Linked DNA regions of Homo sapiens: all the other regions are linked to region 1. The links are contacts of gene promoters, found by promoter capture Hi-C in blood cells and fetal thymus (Javierre and others, 2016). All regions are on one chromosome and are shown on one strand. Each heading gives the region's core, a stretch centred on a gene start or on the middle of the fragment in contact. The rest is flanking DNA. Distances are from core to core; before and after follow the strand shown.

The links. The method cuts DNA at HindIII sites, captures the fragments that hold promoters and counts their contacts. A CHiCAGO score of 5 or more calls a contact.
Region 2: a contact is called between a fragment that was not itself captured here and the fragment with the promoter of LITAF in region 1, in 5 of 17 cell types (neutrophils, monocytes, total CD4 T cells and 2 more). The highest score is 8.3, in neutrophils.
Region 3: a fragment that was not itself captured here is called in contact with the fragment with the promoter of LITAF in region 1 in 5 of 17 cell types (neutrophils, monocytes, total CD8 T cells and 2 more); the score reaches 12.4 in neutrophils.

What each region holds. Positions count from the first base shown.
Region 1 is chr16:11,585,619-11,588,843 of GRCh38, forward strand. LITAF (lipopolysaccharide induced TNF factor) reads right to left here and starts at 1,301. Exons shown (of 4, transcript NM_001136472.2): 1 at 1,268-1,301. RefSeq lists an enhancer at 55-164 and silencers at 1,065-1,144, 1,175-1,654. The HindIII fragment of the contact is 18,010 bases long and covers 1-3,225 here.
Region 2 is chr16:11,683,795-11,686,927 of GRCh38, forward strand. TXNDC11 (thioredoxin domain containing 11) reads right to left here. Exons shown (of 12, transcript NM_015914.7): 11 at 371-451. Among named protein-coding and RNA genes, the nearest start is that of SNN, 17 kb to the left of the region's middle. The HindIII fragment of the contact is 6,503 bases long and covers 1-3,133 here.
Region 3 is chr16:11,702,962-11,705,959 of GRCh38, forward strand. All of the region lies in intron 5 of TXNDC11 (thioredoxin domain containing 11), which reads right to left. Among named protein-coding and RNA genes, the nearest start is that of SNN, 36 kb to the left of the region's middle. The HindIII fragment of the contact is 4,582 bases long and covers 1-2,998 here.

The sequences.
Region 1 (3,225 bases), core at 51-2,550:
TAGGAAGTCCTAAAAAGAGTCACTCTGAGAAGGCAGGGGGTGAGAGGGCAGATGAAGCAGCCAAGCACACATTAAGGCAAATCATGGCTTTCCTAAAGAGGACCCCAAGCTGGGCTTCAGACAGTCTTTGAACCAGCACCAGTGCACCAGGCCAAGGGGAGGGAGGCATCCTCTTTGGGAAGACTGGTAGGAGCTTGGAAGACCCCGTGGCTTCCACAAACTGTAGATTTCCCAGTGACCACTGCTCAGTCCAACAGCCAGTGACATCAGCTCCACTGTCGGGAAGTAGAAAACCAGTGAAGGTCCAACTAGCCTGGTCCCTGAAGCATGACTGGCCCTTCCAGAACATACACCTTTCCCCTATCACCTCCTCTCCCTGACCCCGAAGAGCTTCGGGCACACCACCAACTGACCACCTATCCACAGTGACCTGCAAACCAGAGCGGGGAGGGTATTTGCCTAGCTTGGCAGGGAGGGGCGAGATCCACTTCTGCCACCAGTCACCAGCTGGTCCCACCAGCACCTACCCAGCACCGGCGGTGGACGGTGAGCGGCGTCTGGGCCCAGAGCTGGGTGCCATCAGCAGTAAGAGGACCCCTGCGCTCGCGGGGTGCCCGCCTTACCCCGCGGGGAGGGGTCAGGCCTAGGGGCCACGGCCCGCTTCGCTCTCTGATTTTCACCTCCCCAGGGTCTCCCAGGGGCCTCGGGTGTCCTTCCCGGATCTTGCGCGAAGTCGCGGGGGCAGGGAGAGAAACGCGGGTACCCGCGCCCCTAGAAGTCAAATGTTTGGCAAATAGCATTTGGGAATTCGTTGGGGTTTTTTTGTTTGTTTTGGTTTTGTTTCTGAACCCCCGGGGGATATTTCTGGAAATCTCAACCTGAGTCACTAGAGAGAATCGCGCCTTTTTCTAAAAAGCCCAGGGGCCGTCCTCTCCGGGGAGGGGGACGCGGCGGGCCGCGAAGGGCGCTCGTTCGGGTGGGGGCCGGACGACCCCGCCACGCGCGATCGGGCCACTCTGGGACGCAGGAGCTGAACCCAACCGGAGACGCGGCCGGGACCAGCGCTGGGAGGCCGGACCCCGCCCCGGCCGGGCCCCCACGCCCTCCGCCGCGCCTCGATGCCCGCGACCCGACCCGCGCCCCCTGGCATCCCAGGAGGCCCCAGCCAAGGGCTCAGTGCCCGGGGCCCCCAGCAGGTGCTGGCGCCACCGGCCCCCCGCTGTCTCCCGCTGGTCCCCGCGCCCCGGCGTCCCCGCGCCGCACTCACCGCCGCCCGCGCCGCCTGTCGAGCCGGGAGGTCTGAGCTGGCCTCTCGGGCGCCCCGAGAAAAGGGCCGGGCGGCGGGGACGGGGGCGGGGGCTGGACCCGCCGGGGCGGAGCGCGGCCGGCTTGGGCTTCCGGCTTCTCCCGCCCCCGCGGCCCGCACCTGGGCCCCAGGCGAGACCACCGCCGGTTCCCCGCCTCACTCTGATCGCCCCCAGGCTCCATCCCACACCCGGCTCGCTCGCCACCCCAGAGCTTCCCAGGCTTACCCCCGAGACGCCTGGCGCGGACCTGGTGTCTCCCCCACTCTCCTATCCTGCCCCTGCCTCTCGGTGCCAGCCCCACCCGTCCGCCCCCGACAGCCTGGCCCTCCCTCCTGATTTGCCGCTCGCGGCTCTCCCCACTTTCCCCCCTCCCCGCGCCGCTCCACCACTTCCAGGCGGCGGGACCACCAACCTCGACCCCGGACCCGCGCTGGGGCGCTCCCGGCCCTCTGGAGGGCGGCCCTTCTCTTCCTGTAACTCTACAGACGCGTCCGGACAGACCAAGACACTCTCTGTGCCTTCGGGCATGTTACCCATCCTCTCTGAGCTCGGCTTCCTGTCTGCAAAATGGGCACAATAGCGGTCCTGTCTCCTAAGACCGACTGGGAGTGAACTGGGAAGATGGTAAAGTTTTTAGCACAGGATAGGTATTAGGTAAGGCTTATCAGCTGCCTGTCCGCTTTGTGCCCCCAGGGTGGTCCGTGCCGCCAGGTAGGCCTTTCTCAGCCATCACTGAAAGCAAGCTCTGGAAATCAGTAGCCCCATTTCACATCCGCCCCTAAATGGGTGCCATCTGCCCGTCTGCTTGGAGCCCCATCGGCCGGCTGCAGTGATAACAGCAGCAGCCTGGATCCAGCAGGCTCTCTGGGAAATCATTAGAGGGAATTAAGAAGCATGCCTGGCTTTCAGAGTACACAGAGTCAGGAGATGGGCAGAACCATGATGTGGCCATCCACAAACAAACGCCATTTGGACAGGGAGCTTCCGAGCCCCATGCTGGCAAAGACCTGGATCTTAGAACCCTCCGGTGCCCAAATCCCATGCCTTTACCCGAGGTCCTAAAGATAGTGAGGCCCAGATAGGGAGTGTGGCTTGTCCCGGGTCCCTCAGCAAAGTGTCCCCAGCCCCAAGTTCTTGCCACCTTGCGCCATGTCCACTGACGGGCCACCCTCAGCCGTGGACGAGTTACCAAGTTGGAAGGGATTTCAAAGTTCTCCCAAGCATAGGAGGTTCCCATGTAGATGTTATTAGTGTGGGCAACATTTTACTGCTTTTAAAATATGAAGGGGGCGGGTGCAGTGGCTCTTGCCTATAGTCTCAGGACTTTGGGAGGCCATGGCCAGAGGATCTCTTGAGCCCAGGAGTTCAAGGCCAGGCTGGACAACATAGTGAGACTCCATCTCTATAAAAATTTTTTTAATTAAAAGAATAATAATAAAGCGGTGGAGTGGTGGCATGTGCCAGCTACTCAGGAGGCTGAGGTGGGAGGATTCCTTGACCTCCGGAGGTTGAGGCTGTAGTGAGCTATAATCGAGCCACTGCACTGTAGCAAGCAAGCAACAAAGAAAGAAAGAGGGAAAGAGGGAAAAGAGAAAGAAAAAAAAAAGAAAGAAAAAGAAGAAAGAAAGAGAAAGAAAGAAAGGGAAAAGAAAGAGAAGGAAAGAAGGAAGGGAGGGAGGGAGGGAGAAGAGAAGAACAGGAAATTGGATTACACCCAACCTCTGCCATTCCTCCATTCTCAGGATGCAACCAAGGCTTGCAAAGGTACCAATTATTATACTGACATTAAGACAGAATATCACAGACCATTGCTAGGGAGACATAACACCTAGGGAAAATCTCTCAGAGATAACGTTCAAGAAACATCCCTGTATGAATGCTTTTCTTCCTTCCTTCCTTTCTGTCTCTCCCTCCCTCC
Region 2 (3,133 bases), core at 515-3,014, 99 kb after region 1:
AGGTTGGAGTGCAGTGGTGTGATCTTGGCTCACTGCAACCTCCGCATCCCAGGTTCAAGAGATTCTCGTGCCTCAGCCTCAGAGTAGCTGGGATTACAAGCATATGTCACCATGCCTGGCTAATTTTTGTATTTTTTGTACTGATGGGGTTTCACCATGTCGGCCAGGCTGGTCTCAACCTCTTGAGCTCAAGCAATCTGCCTGCCTCAGCCTCCCAAAGTGCTGGGATTACAGGCATGAGCCACCACGCCTGGTTCCTAAGGGAACATTTTTTGAACATAATGAATGATTTACATCTTAAACCCATTTCATTTTCAGACCTCCACAAAAGAATCCCAACTGCCCACCAGTGACAAAAATTTGGCATTACCTGTTGCAGGGAAAAAACAAGACAGTAGGAAGACGATCGACCATAAATTCCCAAGGAAGGTCATTCTGAGACACGTCAATCCTGGTAAAGGGAAAGAACAGAAATGGCAGATGATCAGCCCAAGAAACACCAACTTGAAAGAACCTTCTCAGATAACTTCAAGAACCTGGTGCATTTTTTACACCCCACATTGGGCTAGTCCCTTCTCGATGAATGTACTACCAGGTGTGAGCTGGGCGCTGATACTTCCAAGACATACAACATTCTACTACGTGGACGCTTTCCACTGAGTGGCAATGTGATGTCCTGAAAGTAAAAATGAACTTGCAGAAAATGCCGCACTGACACCTGAGGAGTCATTCACTCCTCACCTGACAGGATCTAGCCAAGTATTTTAATCCCTGAATAGCTCTGGGAAAAGAAAGGAAATCATTGAGCAAAATACATCAAGCCCCTCTGAAGATGGAAAATTATACCCTCTTTATGTTGTAAATCTGGATAGAGACCAAAAACAGCCTATTTTCTTAGCAGATTTGACATTAATTTTCTAATACAGAAAATGACATCTGTACTAACTCACCCAGCCTGTGCTCAATCACTGTGGGAGCTAACCGCAACTGCTCTAGAGGCCTGCCCCGGGCAGCTGGCACAGAGCTGGGCACACAGCTGGGCGCCCACACTCGGGCTAAGCAGACATGGAGCCACAACAGCATCCTTTATGGAAGGGGCTGCATCCTCCTTGCGGAGGGGCTATTCAGCTACTATTCATAAACAGTGCACACAAAAGATGAACATGTTTTCAATCTTTACCTTGACAGAAGTTTTTAGAAAGCATAACTGGGGGGAGTGAGGGTGCGGTAAGTGTCATGTATGTGTCCAAAAGGATGAAATTTGCTTTTCAAAAAATGGCACAACCAGGCTGAGCACAGGGGCTCACGCCTGTAAATCCAACACTTTGGGAGGCCGAGGTGGGTGGACTGTTTGAGCCCAGGAGTTCGAGACTAGCCTGGGCAACATGGGGAAACCCTGTCTCTACAAAAAATTGGCCGGGTATTCTGGCACATGCCTGTAGTCCCAGCTACTTGGGAAGGTGGGAGAATCACCTGAACCTGGGAGGTTGGGGCTGCAGTGAGCTGTGATTGCACCACTGCATTCCAGCCTGGGCAACAGAGTGAGACCCTGTCTCAAAAAAACAACAACGCCGGGCGTGGTGGCTCACGTCTGTAATCCCAGCACTTTAGGAGGCCGAGGCAGGCAGATCACGAGGTCAGGTGATCGAGACCATCCTGGCTAACGCGGTGAAACGCCACCCGTCTCTACTAAAAATACAAAAAATTAGCTGGGCATAATGGCGGGCGCCTGTAGTCCCAGCTACTCGGGAGGCTGAGGCAGGAGAATGGCGTGAACCCGGGAGGCGGAGCTTATAGTGAGCTGAGATTGCACCTCTGCACTCCAGCCTGGGCAACAGAGCAAGACTCCATCTCAAAAAAAAAAACAAAAACAAAAAACAACAACAGCAACAAAAGGCATAACCAAATGAAAACCATTTACCAAAAGTTTACTAACAAAACAGCACTCCTGCCTCACCTGTGCCAGCCTACCTAAAACATTAGTGTTCCTTTCTAAACAAGTGGGAGTGAACACTATATTCCATAATTAAATGCTTTTTCTCACTTGATTCTTACTTCAAAGAAAGCAAACTATAAAATTAAAACATTGTAAAAATCCACTCAGAATTCCATTGGGCTAAATAAGGCCCCCCTTTCTTATGCAGGCTGCAGGCTTGGTCTATATGCTTACTTTTTTTTTTCTGAGACACAGTCTTGCTCTGTCGCCCAGGCTGGAATGCAGTGGTGCAATCTCAGCTCCCTGTAACCTCCGGCTGCTGGATTCAAGTGATTCTCCTGCCTCAGCCTCCTGAGTAGTTGGGACTACAGGCACGTGCCGCCACACTTGGCTAATTTTTTATTTTTAGTAGAGACAGGTTTTCACTATGTTGGCCAGGCTGGTCTCGAACTCCTGGCCTCAGGTGATCCGCCCACCTCGGCCTCCCAACATGCTGGGATTACAGGCATGAGCCACTGCACCTCGCCTATATCCTTACATATTTTTAAGAAGAGTTGTCATATATTTCATACTCTGTTCTTTTCCATTAACTGTATGAAAAGCACTGTTGAAGGATAAAAATTCCATTAAATGCCCAGCCATAATTTACTTAAACATTCATCTCCTGGTGGATGTAAACAATGCTATAATGATGAGCTCATGCTTCTTCGGAATTCCTATTCCATTACTTCTCCAAAGTAAAATTAACTGGGTCAAAAATGTGTTAACTGTTTTTGTTGATTTCTTGTAAATGTTGCCAAAATGCTTTCCAAAAGAGTTATGGCAATGTACTCATTCCATTAGATACATCTGACTGCAGTTTCCATTTTATTTTATCAACACAAGATTCTGTCACTTAAAACCACTGATTACTTTAATATGTTAAATGATACTTTGTTACTGTTTTAATTTACATTTATTAGGTTATAATTTCCCCACTTGTTTATTTACTCTCTCCTCTTAAAAGAAAAACCTGCTCACATCCTTTGTTCAGAATGGAATCGGTCTCAGCCATCTTCTAAACCATTTTAATTTCCGGGGAGGCTGGAGTATGAATGCCTGATTTAATCCTGGCCCCTCATTTGCAGCTTGAAACTCTGGGCAACTTGTCGAATCTTTCTATGTCTCAGTTTCCTCCTCAACACAAATAGCACTTTC
Region 3 (2,998 bases), core at 309-2,808, 120 kb after region 1:
AATAAGCCAGGCTGGGGAAAGGGGACTGGAAACGGGAAGGCAGGGCTGAGGAGGCCTGGCACTGAGTAGGCCTTTTTGTATCTGACTCCTAGGGCCACAGTGATGTATCACACACCCTTCACACACTCCAAAATTAAACAATTAGTTAAAACCAAGCGAGATGTGGCAAACCCAACGTGGAATACAGCACGTACAAATAACCCTAACTATTGCAAACGGGTAACACCATGGTGAATGGGACAGGAAGAAAGAACCTAAGTAACTGGAAAACAGTATCTTGACTGGATGCTGTAAAACTAAAGGCAAAAAGAACTGTACATAAATGCTGTAAATCTAGGTAGTAAATGTGTTTCTTAAAGAGGTATAAGTTAGCAATTCTGAAACTATGAACTTATTTACTTCTTTGTGGTAAGTACATTATACATAATTACAGCCAGGACTCTCACTGTTGCAGTAAGAAGTTATATATTAATAAGAGAAGGCTAAAATAAACCCTGTGATGTTAAATTGAAATCAGAGAGAATGAGTATAAACTTAAGGCTTTTGATACACACACACACACACACACACACACACACACACAGAGGGAGAGAGAGGGGATGGATAGAGAAATACAGATATATGCACATGTGTGGGTATAATACACTTCCTAGTTCTATCTACTGAGAAGACCTAGAAGTAATGACATCCTAATACCAAAGAGCATACCTAGCACGTAGATCTTGGTTTCTAAATGCCATTCTCCAGTAAAAGAAACCAGGGCCCTTGGAGAAGAGGTTGATTCCAGAGCTGGGGTGAAGAAAGTACAAGATAAGCCTGAAATATCTTGTATCAGAAGTAAAGAAGTGGGCTGGGCATGGTGGCTCACGCCTGTAATCCCAGCACTTTGGGAGGCCAAGGCGGGTGGATCACCTGAGGTCATGAGTTTGAGACCAGCCTGGCCAACATAGTGAAACCCCATCTCTACTAAAAATACAAGAATTAGCCGGATGTGGTGGCACGCACCTGTAATTCCAGCTATCTGGGAGGCTGAGGCAGCAGAATTGCTTGAACCCGGGAGGTGCAGGTTGCAGTGAGCCGAGATTTTGCCATTGCACTCCAGCCTGGGTGACAAGAGTGAAACTCCGTCTCAAAAAAAATAAATGAAGTAAAGAAGTGCTCATAAAAGGATGGGGGTTTGTCCAAAGGACCCAGGAGCCAAGCTGAAGCCCTCCTAGTAGCCAAAGTTGGAACAATTTGAGCAACAAAATAAACAATGACAGTACACAGAATAAGATAAATACCCATGACTCCATAATAATATTAATGAGAACAGTCAGCTCTTCTTTAAGGGAGAATTCCACTAATAATGAAAAAAGAATGAAAGAAACAGAAAATAACCATTTGAACACCAGAGTAATTGTTGCAGGCAAGATCCACTGATGGAGGCTAAAATTCATGAGCAGAAGTTTGAGGATATATTTACATAGTGTCAAATGATCTTCCCCCAAGGTATTTATTTATTAATTACAAAGGAAGAGATAGTAACTTTTCAGTGGAGAAACACAGCAGACACTACTTTAACCAACTGATCAAAGTTAATGTCACCAGTAGGAGACACACTGACATCATATGAACCCCCTGATAAGAAGTGCTGAGAAGTACCTATTTCTATGGTATTGCTGTCAAAAGACATGACCTATTCCAGTCACAAGAAAACAGACAAAATTGAGCAATTTTCTACAAAATACCTGAGAAATATTCTTCAGAAGTGTCAAGGTTATAAAGGACAAGGAAAGACAGAGGATTTGTCATAGGTTGAAGGAAACTGAGAAAAAAACCAACACATTGCGATATGGGATCCCAGACTGGATCCTGAAACAAAAACAGACACTAGTGGAAACATGGAGACAATTCAAATGAGGTCTGCAGTTTAGTGAATAGGACCGAACCAATGTTAACTTCTTTTTCTTTCTTTTTTTTTTTTGAGACAGATTCTTGTTCTGTCGCCCAGGCTGGAGTACAGTGGTGCATCTCGGCTCACTGCAACCTTAAGTGATTCTCCTGCCTCAGCCTCCCGAGTAGCTGGGATTATAGGCATGCACCCCCATGTCCAGCTAATTTTTCTGTATTTTTAGTAGAGACAAGGTTTCACCATGTTGGCCAGGATGATCTCGAACTCCTAACCTCAAGTGATCCACCTGGCCTCAGCCTCCCAAAGTGCTGAGATTACAGGTGTGAGCCACCACACCCAACTCTAACATTGACTTCTTAGTTTGTACAAAACCACCTAACAATTGGTTATGTAAGATGTTAACAATGGGGGAAACTGGCTAAAGACAGGCAATTATGGAACTCTCTGTTTTATTTTTGCAACTTTTCTCTAAGTATAGAATTAGTTGAAGATTTTTAAAAACTTTGTTTAAAGGGCATGGCATATAAGTCCAGATCCCAAAGCTGTCAGAAGAAACAGACCAAAGAGAGGACGTGATTTAGTAGGACCAAAACACCACTCTCCAGAAGCAGCTGATCTTGGAGGACAGTCACAGTTAAAAGAAGAGAAGGAAAAGCAGCCAGTAAGGAAATTCATTTGATAGCCTGCCAAAGTCACCATCGTGATTTATTAGAGCAGAGAAATAAGAAGTGACAGCCTGACCCAAAAGTTAAAAGGGGCCATTCAAAAACCTGTTTAACTGCCTTAATAAGAATGGACAGTCTGCCCATACAGAACAAATTCTAACATGCTCAAACATATTATAATTTCAAAACTTTATTTTTCACACATAACAGAAATGTACAAAAAACACGCTTCTATTTAAGTTCTAGCATATGGTGGAAATCTTGCTAGAAGCAGCAGCTTAAATTTGCAGTCTCACGTGAACAAAGAATACTTAGATTAGCAGAGGAAGTTTATAGCGTAAAGATGACACAAAAAACCAGCATGTCACATCTCCTTATCCAGAGTGTTTTCTGATAAGCAGAGCTCCAGGGCTTTCTACGACAGAAGTCTTAGTCATTT